Regions from separate parts of the Homo sapiens genome. Here region 2 is linked to region 1. Evidence: promoter capture Hi-C in 16 types of primary human blood cells and fetal thymus (Javierre and others, 2016). All regions are on one chromosome and are shown on one strand. Each heading gives the region's core, a stretch centred on a gene start or on the middle of the fragment in contact. The rest is flanking DNA. Distances are from core to core; before and after follow the strand shown.

Evidence for each region. The method cuts DNA at HindIII sites, captures the fragments that hold promoters and counts their contacts. A CHiCAGO score of 5 or more calls a contact.
Region 2: a fragment that was not itself captured here is called in contact with the fragment with the promoter of MSL2 in region 1 in 1 of 17 cell types (erythroblasts); the score reaches 6.1 in erythroblasts.

The regions. Positions count from the first base shown.
Region 1 is chr3:136,194,389-136,199,214 of GRCh38, reverse strand. It overlaps MSL2 (MSL complex subunit 2), which reads left to right and starts at 2,880. Exons shown (of 2, transcript NM_018133.4): 1 at 2,880-4,243. The coding sequence starts at 4,102. RefSeq lists enhancers at 2,333-2,632, 2,803-2,852, 2,430-3,176, 3,803-3,872, 3,177-3,923 and 2 more and a silencer at 3,073-3,462. The HindIII fragment of the contact is 2,546 bases long and covers 1,800-4,345 here.
Region 2 is chr3:138,205,121-138,209,901 of GRCh38, reverse strand. It overlaps ARMC8 (armadillo repeat containing 8), which reads right to left. Exons shown (of 22, transcript NM_001363941.2): 2 at 9-85. Among named protein-coding and RNA genes, the nearest start is that of ARMC8, 20 kb to the right of the region's middle. The HindIII fragment of the contact is 2,140 bases long and covers 865-3,004 here.

The sequences.
Region 1 (4,826 bases), core at 1,631-4,130:
TCTCCTGCTTCAGCCTCCCGAGTAGCTGAAGGCACGTGCTACCACGCCTGGCTATTTTTTTTTTTTTTTGTATTTTTTAGTAGAGAAAGGGTTTCACCTTGTTAGCCAGGATGGTCTGGATCTCCTGACCTTGTGATCTGCCCACCTCAGCCTCCCAAAGTGATGGGATTACAGGCGTGAGCCATCACGCCCGGCCAAGCATTTTTTTCATACATTCATTGGCTGCTTGTATGTCTCTTTTTTTTTTTTTTTTTTTTTTTTGGCACTTGCTCTGTCGCCCATGCTAGAGTGCAGTGGCTCGATCTCGGCTCGCTGCAACCTTTGCCTCCCAGGTTCAAGCAATTCTCTTGCCTCAGCCTCTGGAGTAGCTGGGATTACAGGCACCTGCCACCACTTCTGGCTAATTTTTTTGTATTTTTAGTAGACATGCGGTTTCACCATGTTGATCAGGTTGGTCTCGCCCTCTTGACCTCAGGTGATCTGCCTGCCTAGGCCTCCCAAAGTGTTGGGATTACAGGCATAAGCCACCGCACCTGGCCTATGTCTTCTTTTGAGAAGTGTCTGTTCATGTCCATTGCCCATTTTTTAATGGGGTTGTTTTTTGCTTGTTGATTTTTTTAAGTTCCTTATAGATTCTGAATGTTGGACCTTTGTTGGATGCATAATTTGCAGACATTTTCTCCTATTCTGTAGGTTGTCTGTTTACCCTGTTGATAGTTTCTTTGCTGAAGCACTTCATTTTCTGTAAACAATTCATTTGTTTCCCTTTTAGGCAAGGCTCAAGCAAGCCAATAAATATTAGAAGAGAATATACCTCAAGATTCTTTGCCTCTAAGTACAATACTCTTATTACCAGTTGCAACCAATTTCAGAAGCTAAAAAAGAACTGGCTTAACACACGTTTTCTCTCTCACGTCCATGCACACGAATGATCAACAGAATTAATCTTAATTTGGGGTGTACACATCTGAAGACATTTGTAAAAATCCAGTTATGAGAAAATTAGCAAGGTTAATGCCCTGCAAGTAATCACTTGCTTAGGGTGACTGCTAATTTATTGTCTTAACGGAAAACAGTGCTGATTATTTTACTCTGTGTTGCTCCTTTTGGGGAGAACCACCTCTGTGTTGTGGGAGAAGACCTTAGAGTCTGGAGTAAAAATAGAACCGTGTAACAATTTTATTTGAAGGAGAGCTTAGAAAAGATCTCTTATGCAAAAAAAAAAAAAAAAAGAGAGCTTTTAAAAATGAGAGTGGCTTTTAGAATATTTGTCATTTTCCACGTATAAGACAACCAAATACAGTTTGCACAGCTAATCAAAATTAGGAAGTTATATTCTTACTGCTTAATATTTAAGTGTTGATAATATGGTAGGTCTTGTGAAAAAAAAACCTGTCTTCAAATGGTAATAGAAATTATAAATCGAGATTATATGTGTTCCCTTGATATCTTAACTATTCCTACTCACCTCAAGTGGCAGCTTGTAACTAACACGTACCACATTTACATGTTCCATATACGTGCCTGTGTACATATGTAACATGTGCCACAATAGATTTACACGCATCATAATTTTCACTTTGCAAACGTATAGAGTACCTACTGTGCATGAAAAATTATGCTGAGGAGCTTTGGTGTGTACAGAGATAAGAAATGCTTCCTATGGCCTGTTACTATTTGTGCTACTCAAAAAAAGGTTTTGTACTTTGAGATGGGAGGGAAGTCATCTACTAAGTCAGGCTTTTGTTTATTTATATCCCAGTGCCCTTGATCTCCTGCAAAAACAAAAGGCAAAAGCTTGTTTTAAAAAACAAAACATTTGCAAGGATTTGGGTTTGTTCTAGAGCAAGATCACGCATTCTTCAAGACATCTGTTCACACAGAAGAGCTAGGTCTTTTAAAAAAGCTAGGTCTTTCAAAAAAAAAAAAAAGGAGTTCGTTTTGTTTTTAAAACAGGACTCTGTTCCGGTGAGAGCTCGGTGAAGTCCTGATCGGCACCCATGAAGGTGAGGCCGCACGAGTCCAAGGGCCAGAGGCCGTGGGAACAGCGCGGGTCCGACGGGTAGGAGGGGGCAGTGGGTTCGAGCCTCCACGCTTACATACAGCCTGCCAGGGCCTTAGAGCCCTCTGACTGCGAACCACCGCAGAGAGGTGCGGAACGCGGCCCCGACCCGGCAAAAGCCGTCCGCACGCCTGCTGGGCGCGCAGCCACGTTGACTACTGCAGCCTTCCCGGCTCGGCGAGAGCCTGCCAGCCAGCCGAGGCTGCGCCCTTTCCGCGGTCGGGATGAGCGGTTCCAGGAGAAAGGCCGCGAGGGCGGGGCTTGGGGCCTGGCGCGGCTATTTCCTCACACCGCGGTCAGTCAGGACGAGAGGCCGCGTTCAGGCCAGTGCAGAGCGCCACATGGCGCTACCAAGTCGGGCCCCGGCGTTGGCGGGCACAGAAGCAGTGTAATGCGGGAAGCCTGCAGCCCACACTGGGGAAGGATGTGCCAGCTAACGAATGTTTCACCACAGCCCACATGCCTGGGAGAGGGAATTTGAGAGCACGTGGGGGAGGGGCGAAGAGAGCTGTCGGCTCGCAGAGAGCATGCTCCATTCTGAGAGTCGAAGTGGAGAGCCAGGCATGCGCAGTGAGCCCAGGGTGGGTTGGCAGCGGTGAGGGACTGGCGCGAGCAGGCTGATGTGTTTATCCGGTTTTCTGGGTGGGCGGTCAAAGCGCACGCGGAAGGGCGAAAGGCGGCGGAGCTAGGTAGCAGCTTGCGCATGCGTGGAGTGAGCCGGTAGCTCTGGGAGGCTGTGGAGGGGGTTGTTAGAGGAGAAGCAAGGGAAAAGGGAAGCGAAGGGAGAGGAAAGGGGGGAGGGGTGAGAGTGTGCTCTGCGCATGCGTGCGAGCGCTAGCGACGACGGCGGCGGGGGAGTCTCGGGGATGACAGTGGCTTTGCCCGTTGGGGTAACGGTCGTCGTCGCCGCCAGCAGAGGCCTGAGGCGCCACACAGCCCGCGGGATCCATTAAGGCCGCAGCAGCCCGGGCCCTACCGAGCTGGAGTGGCGCGTGGAGTCGGGGTGAGGGCGGCGAGGCACGGGGGAGGGGCCTGCGGCGGGGCCTTGCTGTGTGCGCTGGGCGGCGGCGGGGCCTGGCGGTGTGAGCGCTTGCCTTCCGCGGCCGGGGAGTGCTGAGGGCGGCGGCGGCCGTCGTGCTCGGCGGAGGAGTCGTCTGTGTGTGTGGCGCCGAAAAAATGGCCGGGCAGTGAGGGGGCGGCGCTTGAGTCTGGTGACCCCGGAGTGTGCGACTGAGGCGCGAGGGGCGCCGCCGCGGCCCGGCCGGGCTTGCCCCCCGCCCCCTCCCGCCCGCCGGCGGCGGCCCGCGCACTTCCTCCCCGGCCTTCCCCTCCGGGTTGAGGACTCCCGCCCGCCTCGCCACCTCGGGGAACTGCGGGCTGCAACCCACGGGGCGGAGAGCCAGGGCGCAGTCTGGGCCCCGCGTCCGATATGGAGAGCGCGGCGGCGGCGTCCGCCAGCCGCAACATCAACCTTCGTCGCCGCCGCGGCGTCTTGCACTAGATCCGGGAAGCCGCTGCCCGACCGTCGTCCTTGCCGTCGCCGCCGCCTCCGCGCCCTGTACTGGGATGGAGTAAGAGGCCCTGCAGCCCGGGAGAAGCGTGCCGCGCCTCAGACGGGGCCGGGGCCTGCTCCCGCGCCTGCCAGCTCGACTTGAGGAGGCGCCTCCGTGTCCGGAGATGGAGCTCGAGTGCAGGCCGCCTGCCGAGCCGCGGGGCTAGACTGAGCTCCGAGTCCCGCCCCGAGCGCCCAAGCCGCCGCGTTCTGCGCTCTGTGGTCGCTCCGGACGAACTCGAACGCTGGTTTCTCTCTCATATTTTTGGTCTGGAAGTCTCAGGGACGGAGGGGCGCCAAGGCCCCATGTGTGGGAGGATTGTTTCAGCTCCACAAACTTGCACGGATTTTGGTTACTTGTTTGGCCAATGGTTCGGCTCTGATTTCTTCCGAATTGTTGCAAATTCGCCATCGTTCCCTGGCTGCTTACTAAGTTGGATCCGGAATTTCTTTTCAACCGGGAGCCATTGGTGTCGAAGTGTCTGCAATGAACCCCGTGAATGCTACTGCTCTCTACATTTCCGCGAGCCGCCTAGTGCTCAACTACGACCCCGGAGACCCCAAGGCGTTTACTGAGATTAACAGGCTCTTGCCTTACTTCCGACAGTCCCTTTCGTGCTGTGTTTGCGGTGAGACGCTTTTTATTGTTCCCTTTTCAATGCTTGTTTTTAAAAGCCTTCTGGGCAGTGGTAACGTGAGCGGGTTGACGGCCTGGTGGTTGGTATTAAGCTTTTGTTATTTGTGCAGCGCTGTACGGTCATTAGTTTTGAAACTTGCTGAGGGACTTTTGCCCGGCGTTTCAGAAAGGCAGAGAACCCTTTCATACCGCTTTGTGCAGCGGCGTTAACGTTCAAAATGGTTTAATTCGCCTCGGTTCATCTGGTGGTGGTGGTTTAAGTGGGGGTAAGATGCATGCACAAGGCTTTTTTTTTTTTTTTCTTAAACCTTTGCCGCGGGAGCTGATTACGTACCTACGGCGGTTAAAAGTGGTTAAACATGATCAAAACATGCACATGTGGGCACATGTGGCGTGTTTGCATTTCCCCAAACTGGTGTTACGTGGGAGTGGTGGGCTAAGCTGATGAACCCACAGCTGGAGAACCCGGCGCGGAACTTTGCCCCAGGTTCCTCCACAAATGCTTTGACGGTTTGACGGTTAACAGCGAGCCGGGGAAGGCTGTTGGTACTCGAAGTGCTTTTTAGCTGGTGAGA
Region 2 (4,781 bases), core at 685-3,184, 2.0 Mb before region 1:
CTACTTACATGACACCTTGTAGAACTTTCTGGGGATCAGGGTCAAATAGCCTGTCAACATAGTGGCGACTGCTAGCTGTTACTTCCTAGAAAGTGGGGGGAAAAATTATGACATCTGAAGCCATGCAAATCACAAATTCACAGCATCACCCACAATATCAAGTGACTAGATAATTTAACTTAAGGTAGATGCATTAAAATTTATATGAAATACTTAGTTTTGCCTCCTCATGATATGGGATACTTAAGCAGGTGACTTTTCTCTCTCAGGTATCAAAATAATGGGAAACTGTAGTGTTCAGTTCAAGATGTCAAAGATCAATATTTTTCTTCTAAGAATGCCCAATTTCAAAAGTAAGAATGTCCATGGTATACATTTTACTATGTCTTAAAACTAGCAGGAGAGTTTGGAAAATCAACGTAATTACAAAGCACATCACTTTGTTCATTCAGAAGAATCATCAGGAAGATATTAAGTATATTTTTGTAAATACTTTATTACATTAGTCTGAAAAAAAGCTCATGACAAAGATAAACAGTAAGACAGAAAAGAAAGAAGACTCCTAGTTCTCACTAAACACATAGCTAGACAGTGGGACCTTTGTGGCGAGCCCTAGAAGTTTTGCCAACAGAAGACCTAGGCAAATATGTTAGCATATACACTTAGCAGCAAGCTAAGTTTCTTCACTAACTGCTGGGTGTCATGTACGTATAATTAATAGATAGGAATATTACTTCTATAAATTAGTATACACAAAAGGACAAAATCTGGCTCTCAGCCAGGGAAGAGTGAGGACTCCATGAAACAGTCTGTAAGGGGTAGTCTAGGTACAAGAGGAAATCCTTAGACTAATGTAGAGAAGCTTCATTGCTGGAGGCAGAAGTAAAAATAAATAAAGGAGTTGTCACACTTTCTGTGAAGGAAAACAATTAAGAATTAGAGTGATCTGTAGGCCACCCAAGCTGTCTCAACTGAACTGGATAAGGGTGGGTAGAATTAGAAAGAGTACAAAGGGAAGACACTTACCTCCTTTTCATTTGTATTGTGAAGTTTTTCTATTGTGTTATTTCTTGTAATACTTATTTTGGAGGGTAACTCTTTTTTAATATTTAATTTTTGATGCTTCATATTATTTAAAATAAAGAATCCATATTTAAGAACCAGAGAAAAAGTTTTGTCCCCTGCTTGTTTTTTCTGATGCCTGCTGAAATATCTTTATATACTCCCCCGCCGTTAGCAATAAGTTCTTATAGGGAGGAAGAAATAACTTTTCCAATTTACTCAGAACTCCAAATCAGTAAAAGTTAATTACCAAGACACAGTACCAGCTTAAAACTTTTGAGCCACCAAAAATAACTCTGGAGAACTACACAAACTCTAGTTTTCTGATAATATAGTTAACTAAGTCAACATATATTTTCTTCCCCCCTCCCCTGAGACGAAGTCTCGCTCTGTTGCCCAGGCTAGAGTCCAGCAGCATGATCTTGGCTCACTTGCAACCTCCGCCTCTCGGGTTCAAGCAATTCTCCTGCCTCAGCCTCCTGAGTAGCTGGGATTACAGGCGCGCACCACCACATCCAGCTAATTTTTGTATTTTTAGTAGAGATGGGGTTTCACCATGTTGGCCAGGCTGGTCTTGAACCCCTGACCTCGTGATCCGCCCGCCTTGGCCTCCCAAAGTGCTGGGATTACAGGCATGAGCCACTGTGCCCAGCCAACACATATTTTCGTATTCTGAATTTGCTACCAAAATATCCTCAAAGGCAACTCAAATACCTCCTTTAAAACAACAACAACAACAAAAAAAAAAAAACAGAGATGCCGTCTTGCCCAGGCCGATCTCAAACTCCTGGGCTCAAGGAATACTCTCATCTCAGCCTCCCAAGTAACTTGACTACAGGTATGTGCCACTACATCCAGCTCAAATGCTTGCTTTTAGCATGTACTTCATTTTTAAAGAACAAACAGTGGAAGCAAAGAGGCAAAAGTGGTGAAAATTCTTGTGCCCACCAGGGTACCATTAAAGCACCTGCTAACACATGTTTTCCTCAAAATAACAGAATCACAGAGTTAGAAGGACTCTCAACAATAATCTGCTCAATCCCTCGGTTTACAAATGGGGCTTCTCATGATCTTTACCCATTTGTCAGATCTTCAAATGTACAGTTAGGACACAAATAACTGTACGAACATATCAAGAAACAATATATGACAACCAAAAGCTACAGAAGAACTGAAAAAAAGCACTACTATAATACAAACAGGTAAGTTTTGCCACTCCATTTGAGTACATGTTTTCCTGGTTTTCTGACATAGTAAGTTCTAAGTACCTCAGACCCTCCTATCCAGAGATTGATTTTGATGTTACTGTTCTATCTTTACTGTCTATAGCTCCACATCTCTTACCTCTCAATGATGTGTATCTTAACATAAGTTTCCCCCATTAATAGCAATTCTTTTGCTGCTCTGTGCCTGGTTCATTCAATATAACATGCACTGAGGAAAGCATTAAAAATAAATTTATCTTTAATAAAGAAGATAAGCAAGGCACAGTCCCTGTTCTCAAGAATTCATATTCTCTTGTTACTATGTTTACATGATTATTTCCCTATTAGAATATAAGAATTATAGTATACACAACATAAAGGCGGCACTGAGGAGGACATTTGTAAACCAGGGGAATCAGGGAAGGCTTCTTTCAGGAATTGGCTTTGGAAAATGAGTAAGAGTGTACCAGGATGGACAAGGAAAGAAAGAATCAATGTCACAATCATTGCCACAGGGCATGCAAAGCCAATACAAGTAAACAATCAGCAAGTATACTAGTTGCTGGCACTGAAAAGAACAGAGGATAGAGAGGCACCGCAGGATGTAAAACACAAAAGGCTAACCAATAGGTGGACCACAATTGGAGATTTCACACTGCCTTTTGGTCAAAGTTACATGCTAGATGCCAAAGAAGGTATAAGAGGACATTAAGGCAGAGCCTTGCATTTAAGAAGCTTAGTATCTGAAATTGTTATGTATACGCAAAAATAATCATATAAGTTGCTCAGACAGCAAGCAAGCTGAAGGGGTATGATCACTTATTCAACCTTATCTTACTCTACGCTTTTGTCTAATGTATTCATTTATCTGTATAGGACAATTCTGATATTTCACTGCTCCTTGTAGATCAGGTCACCTCTCCCCTCCCAGTCCTCTTCTCTCTTCTTTCAGAAGGCAGCCTAGAAATATAAGAGGTAGGGAGAGAAGGCAATTTGTACAGATATTAAATGGGTTGATAAGAGAAAGAACGTCTAAAAAGGTGACATTTGAGCGAAGTCCTAAAGAAGGTGAAGGAGCAGACTGTGCACCTACCTAGGGGTAGAGCTTTTTTTAGGCAAAAAGAACAGCAAATTCAAATGCCCTAAAATGAGAAGTATCTGCCATAATCAAAGAATAGGAGGCCATTATAGCTGGAGCAGAATGAGCAAAGGAGAAAGCAGCAGGAGATGAGGCAGAGAACAGGCGCCAGATGGTAAAGAGCTGCACTGTCCAGTAAGCCAGCCTCTAGCCTCATATGGCAATTGAAATTTGAAATGTGGCTAGGAAGTGAATTTTGTTTATATTTTAAACTTTAATTAAAATTAAAAAACCAATACTGGATTCAGTTATTTTAAAACTTTTAAGAATGATTTGGAACTACTTGGGTATATGAGTTTACATTTTCAACTATAAACTTTATGACACCTAAATATGAATCAAGTATTTCCAATAAAAATTTAGCATCCAAATTGTATAAACTATACATCAGATACTGAAGACTTGCTATTTTTGCAACAAATTTCAGTAATAACTTATTACACAGATATATTGAAATAATATTTTGCTTTACTTGTTTAAATAACATTAAAATCAACTTCACTTGTTTCCTTTTTACTTTAGACAGCATGGCTGCTAGAAAATTTTAAATCACGTATGTGGCTTGCCTTTTTCCATTGGATAGCACTAGTATAGAACTTTGTTGGTCATTGTTAGGATTTTTATTTTTATGGTCCAAGTTGGGAAGCCATTAGAGGGTTTAGGGAAATAGACACATGATCTGACTTATGTGTGTACTTATCTTATGTTTTGTTTATTTTTAGTAGAGACAAGGTCTCAACCTCGTTGCCCAGGCTGATATCAAATTCCTGACCTCAAGCGATCCTCCCACCTCAGCCTCCCAGAGTGCTGGGATTACAGGCGTGAGCCACAATGCCTGGCCCTGACTTATGTTTTTAAAGCATCACTCTGGTTGCAATTTAGGAACAGACACGTGTGGAGAAAGGGAAGGAATACAAGACAAAAGTAGGGAGACTAGGAAGGAGGTTATTTCCATCACCGGTAATGCTATTATTTCATAGATGATGGTAGCATGGACTAGACCAAACACTGTGGAAGATGTATTCAGATTCCAGGTAAGTGCTGAAGTTATAAAATGGATAAGCCATTAGACTCGATGTAGGGTGTGAGAGAAGAAAGGAGGCAAGGGTAACACTTACTTCCCTGAGCACATTAAAAGACTGAATTGCCGCCGGGCGTGGTGGCTCACGCCTGTAATCCCAGCACTTTAGGAGGCTGAGGCGGGCAGATCACGAGGTCAGGAGATCGAGACCAGCCTGGCCAAGATGGTGAAACCCTGTCTCTAGCCGGGCATGGTGGCGCGCACCTTTAGTCCTGGCTACTCGGAAGGCTGAGGCAGGAGAATCACTTGAACCAGGGAGGTGGAGGTTGCAGTGGGCTAAGATCACGTCACTGCA